2 separate regions of the Homo sapiens genome follow, and region 2 is linked to region 1. The links are contacts of gene promoters, found by promoter capture Hi-C in blood cells and fetal thymus (Javierre and others, 2016). All regions are on one chromosome and are shown on one strand. The core of a region is centred on a gene start or on the middle of the fragment in contact, and the rest is flanking DNA. Distances in the headings are between cores, read along the strand shown. Region 1 holds the start of SUPT7L (SPT7 like, STAGA complex subunit gamma). Region 2 overlaps TRMT61B (tRNA methyltransferase 61B).

Region 1 (3,200 bases), core at 415-2,914:
AATGGCATTATGCTTTCAACTTTTGACATATAGAACGTGAGAGATTTCTGCTGCCTTCTAACTGGTATCCCTTCCTCCAATCTCTCTTTGTATGTCATCTATTCTCTACACTGCTGCTAGACTTACTCTTTTTAAAACTTAAATCAAATGGCTTCCCATTGCCTATTGGAAAAAGTCAGAATTCCTTGGCTTACCATTCAACAAAATTCACAATCTGGTTTCAACTCACCTTTGCAGATTCATTGTCCATATGTCTCTTCAAGTTCAACAAACATTTATCAAATGCCAGGCATTCTGTGTCGGTCAAAGACTGATAATGTGAGATCCTTGCCCTGAAGTGAGGAAGAGAAACAGAAGCAGAATATTTCAATATGAAACATGGTAAGTACTGTTCTAGAGGTATATGGACCTGGGGTACTGGAAGCACAAAGGAGGAGCTTCCTGGGTGAAATGACTACCTTTGTTCTAACAACATTATACTACTCAGTTTCTTGAGAATGCTGTACATTTCCACAATTGACACTTTCAGCTGTGAACTCTGCCAGAAATGCTCTGCCAACCTTGCACATCCCTGGCAGACTCATATTCATTTTTAAGTACAGCATAAGTCCCCACCGTCCGTCACTTCACCAGTGCATCTCCCTTTCTCTATTCTCACAGTGCTTTGCAAGTCTATGTCACAGCAGTTATCCTTGGATTTTAATTAGTACTTATCGCAATAGATTTTTTCTGCCCGTCTATTTCTTATGGCTGTGGTCTTGTTACAGGGCCAGGCACACAGAAATATCTGGCATTTGTTGAATGTTTACTATATGCCAGACTTCACCTTTTTTGTTTGTTTCTTTTTTGAGACAGGGTTTCACTCTGTAGCCCAGGCTGGAGTGCAGTGGTGCAGTCATGGTTCACTGCAGCCTCAACCTCCTGGGACCAAGCAATCCTCCCACCTCAGCCTCTGGAGTAGCTGGGACTACAGGCGCGCACCATCAAACCTGGATTTTTTCTTTTTTTTTTTTTTTTTTGGCGAGACAGGGTCTCGCCATGTTGCCCAGCCTCCTCTGGAACTCCTGGGCTCAAGCAATCCTCCCGCCTCAGCCTCCCAAAATGTTGGGATTACAGGCATGAGCCACCGGTCTGGCTGGCCTTTATTGTTTGATTCAATTCTTCCAACAACCCTATGAGGCTAATAATCTTATCCCCATTTTTCAGAGTGAGGGCTGAGGCCTAGTGTCTTGCCCAATGTCACAAATGGCGAGGTCAAAAATCGACAGTCTCCAGAGTCTGCTCTCTTAACCACTTAACTATTCTGCCTTAATAATTTCAGAAAAAAAATAAATGAATGAACGAAATAACAAAAAAGTCGCCCTCTTCCCTTACTTTACCGAAAGGAGCACGAAGAACAGGCACGGAGCCCAAGGAATGCCCAAGTCCCTCCAGGGGTTTCCTCGGTCACGGTCCGCCGGCGCAGGCGCCAATCACAGGGTCCTGAGGTCGCCTGACGTTCAGGGCAGCCGGAAGACGGGGAGGTCTGGACCTGAACCGAGACAAGGAGGTACCACACTATTCACTGCTGCGTCGCAGAGCGGGCTGGGCGGCTGTCTGGACCTCGAGAGGCCTGAGGCAAGGATCGCGTCAGACCCCGAAAGCTGGTTTGTTGATTAGTGATCTAAGACCGCCGGAAGCGCTTCTTCTCAATCAAGCTATGCAACAGGAAGTCATTACGATCCCGTTGTAACCTCTAAATATGTCCCCGTTCTGCACAGCATCCCGATAACCGTTTTGTTTTTCTCATATTATGACCTTCTCATGTTAGCACCACTTCGCAACGCTCCAGGTCGTGAAGGAGCAACTTCACCATCGCCGCCTACAGACGCCACTGGGAGCTTGGGAGAGTGGGACGTGGACAGGAACGTAAAGACCGAAGGGTGGGTTTCGAAGGAGCGGATTTCGAAGTTGCACCGGTTGAGGATGGCTGACATTCTCTCTCAGTCAGAGACCCTGGCGTCGCAAGACCTCAGTGGGGACTTCAAGAAGCCAGCTCTGCCGGTGTCCCCAGCGGCGCGGAGTAAGGCCCCGGCCAGCAGTTCTTCAAACCCTGAGGAGGTACAGAAGGAAGGGCCCACTGCGTTGCAGGACTCCAATTCTGGGGAGCCCGACATCCCTCCTCCTCAGCCGGACTGCGGTGATTTTAGGAGTCTACAGGAGGAGCAGTCGCGCCCCCCGACAGCGGTTTCTTCCCCTGGCGGTCCAGCCCGGGCTCCCCCCTACCAAGAGCCTCCATGGGGTGGCCCTGCCACAGCCCCCTACAGCTTAGAGACCCTGAAGGGCGGCACTATCCTTGGCACCCGTAGCTTGAAAGGGACGAGTTACTGCCTTTTCGGGAGGCTGTCTGGCTGCGACGTGTGCCTGGAGCACCCTTCGGTGTCTCGGTACCACGCAGTGCTGCAGCACAGGGCGTCCGGCCCTGACGGAGAATGCGACAGCAACGGGCCGGGCTTCTACCTCTACGATCTGGGAAGCACCCATGGCACTTTTCTCAACAAAACTCGCATCCCACCTCGCACCTACTGTCGAGTCCACGTTGGGCATGTTGTTCGCTTTGGAGGCAGCACCCGGCTCTTTATCCTGCAGGTAGGTAGAAAAACCTAGAATTGAAATTTCGGGTTCATTGGACTGCGTTCTTGTGCTTCTTAAGCTTTGGATGAGGAAGAAGAATCTCCCACTCAGCGATTACGAAAGTGAAGGAATCAAGTCTGGCCTATCATCTTCAGACGGCTGTACACATTGCTATATTTCTGAAAGTCATGTTCACAATCCCGAACTCTAAAATAACTTGTTTGGCCAGGCGCGGTGGCTCGCGCCTGTAATCCCAACACTTTGGGAGGCCCAGGCGGGAGGATCGCTTTAGCCCAGGAGTTTGAGAGGAGGCTGGGCAACATGGCAAGACCCTGTCTCTTAAAAAAAAAAAAAAAAATTAGCCAGGCATCATGGTCCCAGCTGCTCAGGAGGCTGAGGTGGGAGGATCACCTGAGCCCAGGAGGTCAAGGCTGCAGTGAGGTGTATTACAGCCACTGCACTCCAGTCCAGCCTAGGCGACAGAGCAAGACCCTGTCTCTAAATAAATAAATAACCTTTTTTTCCTTGGTTCATCAGGGACCAGAGGAAGACCGAGAGGCAGAATCCGAGTTAACAGTAACACAGTT
Region 2 (3,200 bases), core at 495-2,994, 1.2 Mb after region 1:
AGCCTGGGGGTAGGGGAGCCCTGCTATATAAGAAAAAAAAGAGACTATGCTATTACTAGATTGGAGGACCCACTTGCCAAACATATAATTGGAATTGTTTTTGTTAACACAAATATTACGGATGATATTAATAAAAACTGTTTTTTTAAATTTAGTAAACAAATTTTCTTGGTGACAGGGTCTCTGTCACTCAGACTGGAGTGTAGTAGTGCAATAGTAGCTCACGGCAGCCTCGAACTTCTGGGCTCAAGCAATCCTCCTACCTCAGCCTCCAAAGTAGCTGGGACCACAGGCATGTACCACCATGCCCAACTAATTTTTTTTTTATTTTTTATAAAGATGGGGTCCTGCTATGTTGGCCAGGTTAGTCTTGAACTCCTAGCCTCCAGCAATCCTCCTGCCTTGGCCTCACAAAGCACTGAGATTACAGGTGTGAGTGACGGCACCTGCCCCCTCACTTTTTTTTTGAGATAGGATCTTACACTGTTGCCCAGGCTGGAGTGCAGTGGCAAGATCATGGCTCGCTGCAGCCTCAAACTCCTGGGCTCAAACAATCCTCCCATCTCAGCCTCCTGCGTAGCTGGGACCACAAGTGTGTGCCAGCATACCTGGCTAATTTTTTATTTTTTGTAGAGACAAGGTCTCCCTATGTTGCCCCGGCTGGTCTCAAACTTCTGGGCTCAAATGATCCTCCTGCCTCAGCCTCCCAAAATATTGAGATTACAAGTGTGAGCCACTGCACTCTGCCTCTGGTCATATTTTTAATACTAAGATGGAATTATGTAATTCTAACAGGGAGATCAGTTTTTAAACATCAGTGAAGGTATTCCCTCAAGCATTTCAAAGTTGTAGAAGTTGAAGTAAAACTATCTCCAGCCATTACTTGGAAGCTATAAAGAGAAGTCAACACCTAACAAATTTAGTACTTAAATTCCTCCTTAGAGTGGAACAATGTGACTTTTATCTGTAACAAATGGAAAGGCAGAAAGTATACTAAATATGCATATTTATAACTTCATGAAATGTAACTAATCTCTCCTGATTTTGTCTAATGGGGAGAAAGGAGACACGGGGAAGCAAGATAAAATTACGAAAGTCTTTTAGTTTTCTTCAAGAGCTTATGATACCATGGCCAGGAGCGGTCGTTCTCACCTGTAATCCCAGCACCCTCAAGGGAGGATCCCTTGAGCCTAGAGAAGTTTGAGACCAGTCTGGGCAAGTTAGGGCGACCCCAACTCTACAAAAAAAATTTTTGATTAGCTAGGCATAGTGGCATGCACCTGTGGTCCCAGCTACTCAGGAGGTTGAGGTGCGAGGATTGTTGGAGCCTGGGAGGTTCAGGCTACAGTAAGAGGTGATTGAGCCACTGCACTCTAGCCTGGGTGACATAGCAAGACCTTGTCTTTAAACAAAAAAAGCTTATTATACCTCAGTAGCCTAAGTTTCTGAGGAAAGTTTTTTTAGTCCCTGGGTAGACCGTTTAAAATACAGACTGGATTCCTACTAAGAACCTTCTAATGGTCCTTCACTACAAATGGAATAAAATACTCAAACCACACCTCATACGGGGTCCCTCATCTGACCCATTGAGGCCACAACAGAAACTCTGCAGCATTCCTCCCTTTGCAAGAACAATTCTCTTCCTAGATCTGTTTACAAGGCAAGCTCTTCCTTATTTAGGTTTCCTATCAAGTGTACCTCCTTGGAGACCATCTCTCCTCACCTGACATAAAGTATGCTCATACCCCAGGTCACCCAAAACAATGTCATTGTTAATATATTTGTCTTCATGACACTTAACACTACTGGAAATGACCTTATTCTTTCATTTACTTGTTTGTTCTTTGTCACCCCTTCTAGAATGTAAGGTCTATGTTGAGGGTGAGGACTGCAGTTCAACACTATACTTCCCTAAACAGTGCCTTGAGTATGGAAGGCAGTCAATTTGCTGAATAAATAACGAATGAATCCTGATCTGGAGAAAGGAGGAGGAGTTGTGTTACACAGGAACATTCTACTCAAGGACTGTGACTAAGGATTGAAATAATCTGCTAGCAATAGATGATTAGCATAAGCTTCAAACTAGGGCTGGGCGCGGTGGCTCCCGCCTGTAATCCCAGCACTGGGAGGCCGAGGTGGGCGGATCACTTGAGGCCACGAGTTGAAGACCAGCCTGGGCAATAAGGCGAAACCCCGTCTCTACAAAAATTAGCCCGGGGTGGTGGTGCATGCCTGTAGTCCCAGGTACTCAGGAGGCTGTGGTGGGAGAATCGCTTGAACCCGGGAGGCAGAGGTTGCAGGGAGCCAAGATCGCAACACTGCACTCCAGCCTGGATGACAGAGTGAGAACTTGTCTTAAAAAAAAGACTGAAACTAGGCTTTAGGCAGTTAACTTTTTAATAAAGAATAGTCATTTTATGTTTGGTGTTGAATGTTAGCTATTGTAATATAAAACTCTATTTCTTCCCTAAAAGGGGAAAAGCACCGTAATGTACCTATTGTTAATATACTCTTGTAACATGATTATTGAATATTAAAATATCATCATAGTAGTACTAAAAAATTGTTCCCTAAGAGTTCAACATTCTCTTGAGTCCTGAAGTTATAAACTTAAGAGTAATGGGGAACAAAATTAGTACTTATTATGTACGTAGTGAGTTCACATCACCCTAACAGAAAGTTGAGCTATTATCCACATTTTACAAATAAGGGACTCGAGACTCCTAAGTTAAAATTAAAATCTAGCCGTTCCCTAATGCTAATTTTCATCATGATATGTAAAAGTTATAACCATTGGTTTATTTTAAAAGCCTGAGTACAATAAAAAATCCAAACGTTCTGAGATGTCTTTGAATACATTAATCAGGACTGAGTACTGCATCTGTCTTTGCCCCTCCTGAAACCAATACACACCTTATCTCCATCGCATTACCTTTGGGAATGTTATGGCAGTCCCTCTTTTCATCAATACTACATAGTCTTCCAAGGCTGGCCTCCTCAGCATGTACTGCTTACCGAAGGAACTCCTCAGTATCTGGCCGGGGAACTTCCCCACGATCTTGCCGAACGGGACTGCCCCCCAGTTACTATTTAAGAGTCCGAAGTTGTTCAACCTAAATAATTTCTTAAATTTTGTTTCTCCCTCCCCAGTCTCAGCTAAAATCAGTTCCCCAGCCTGAAAGGGTCTCTCTCTGGAAGTT

What was found. The method cuts DNA at HindIII sites, captures the fragments that hold promoters and counts their contacts. A CHiCAGO score of 5 or more calls a contact.
Region 2: a fragment that was not itself captured here is called in contact with the fragment with the promoter of SUPT7L in region 1 in 1 of 17 cell types (monocytes); the score reaches 7.8 in monocytes.

The regions. Positions count from the first base shown.
Region 1 is chr2:27,661,950-27,665,149 of GRCh38, forward strand. It overlaps SUPT7L (SPT7 like, STAGA complex subunit gamma), which reads right to left and starts at 1,665. Exons shown (of 6, transcript NM_014860.3): 1 at 1,380-1,665; 2 at 230-332. The coding sequence starts at 243. SLC4A1AP (solute carrier family 4 member 1 adaptor protein) reads left to right here and starts at 1,940. Exons shown (of 14, transcript NM_018158.3): 1 at 1,940-2,628; 2 at 3,151-3,200. The coding sequence starts at 1,966. The HindIII fragment of the contact is 6,150 bases long and covers 1-2,690 here.
Region 2 is chr2:28,866,647-28,869,846 of GRCh38, forward strand. It overlaps TRMT61B (tRNA methyltransferase 61B), which reads right to left. Exons shown (of 7, transcript NM_017910.4): 1 at 2,933-3,200. Among named protein-coding and RNA genes, the nearest start is that of TRMT61B, 2.1 kb to the right of the region's middle. RefSeq lists enhancers at 1,657-2,172, 2,173-2,687. The HindIII fragment of the contact is 657 bases long and covers 1,417-2,073 here.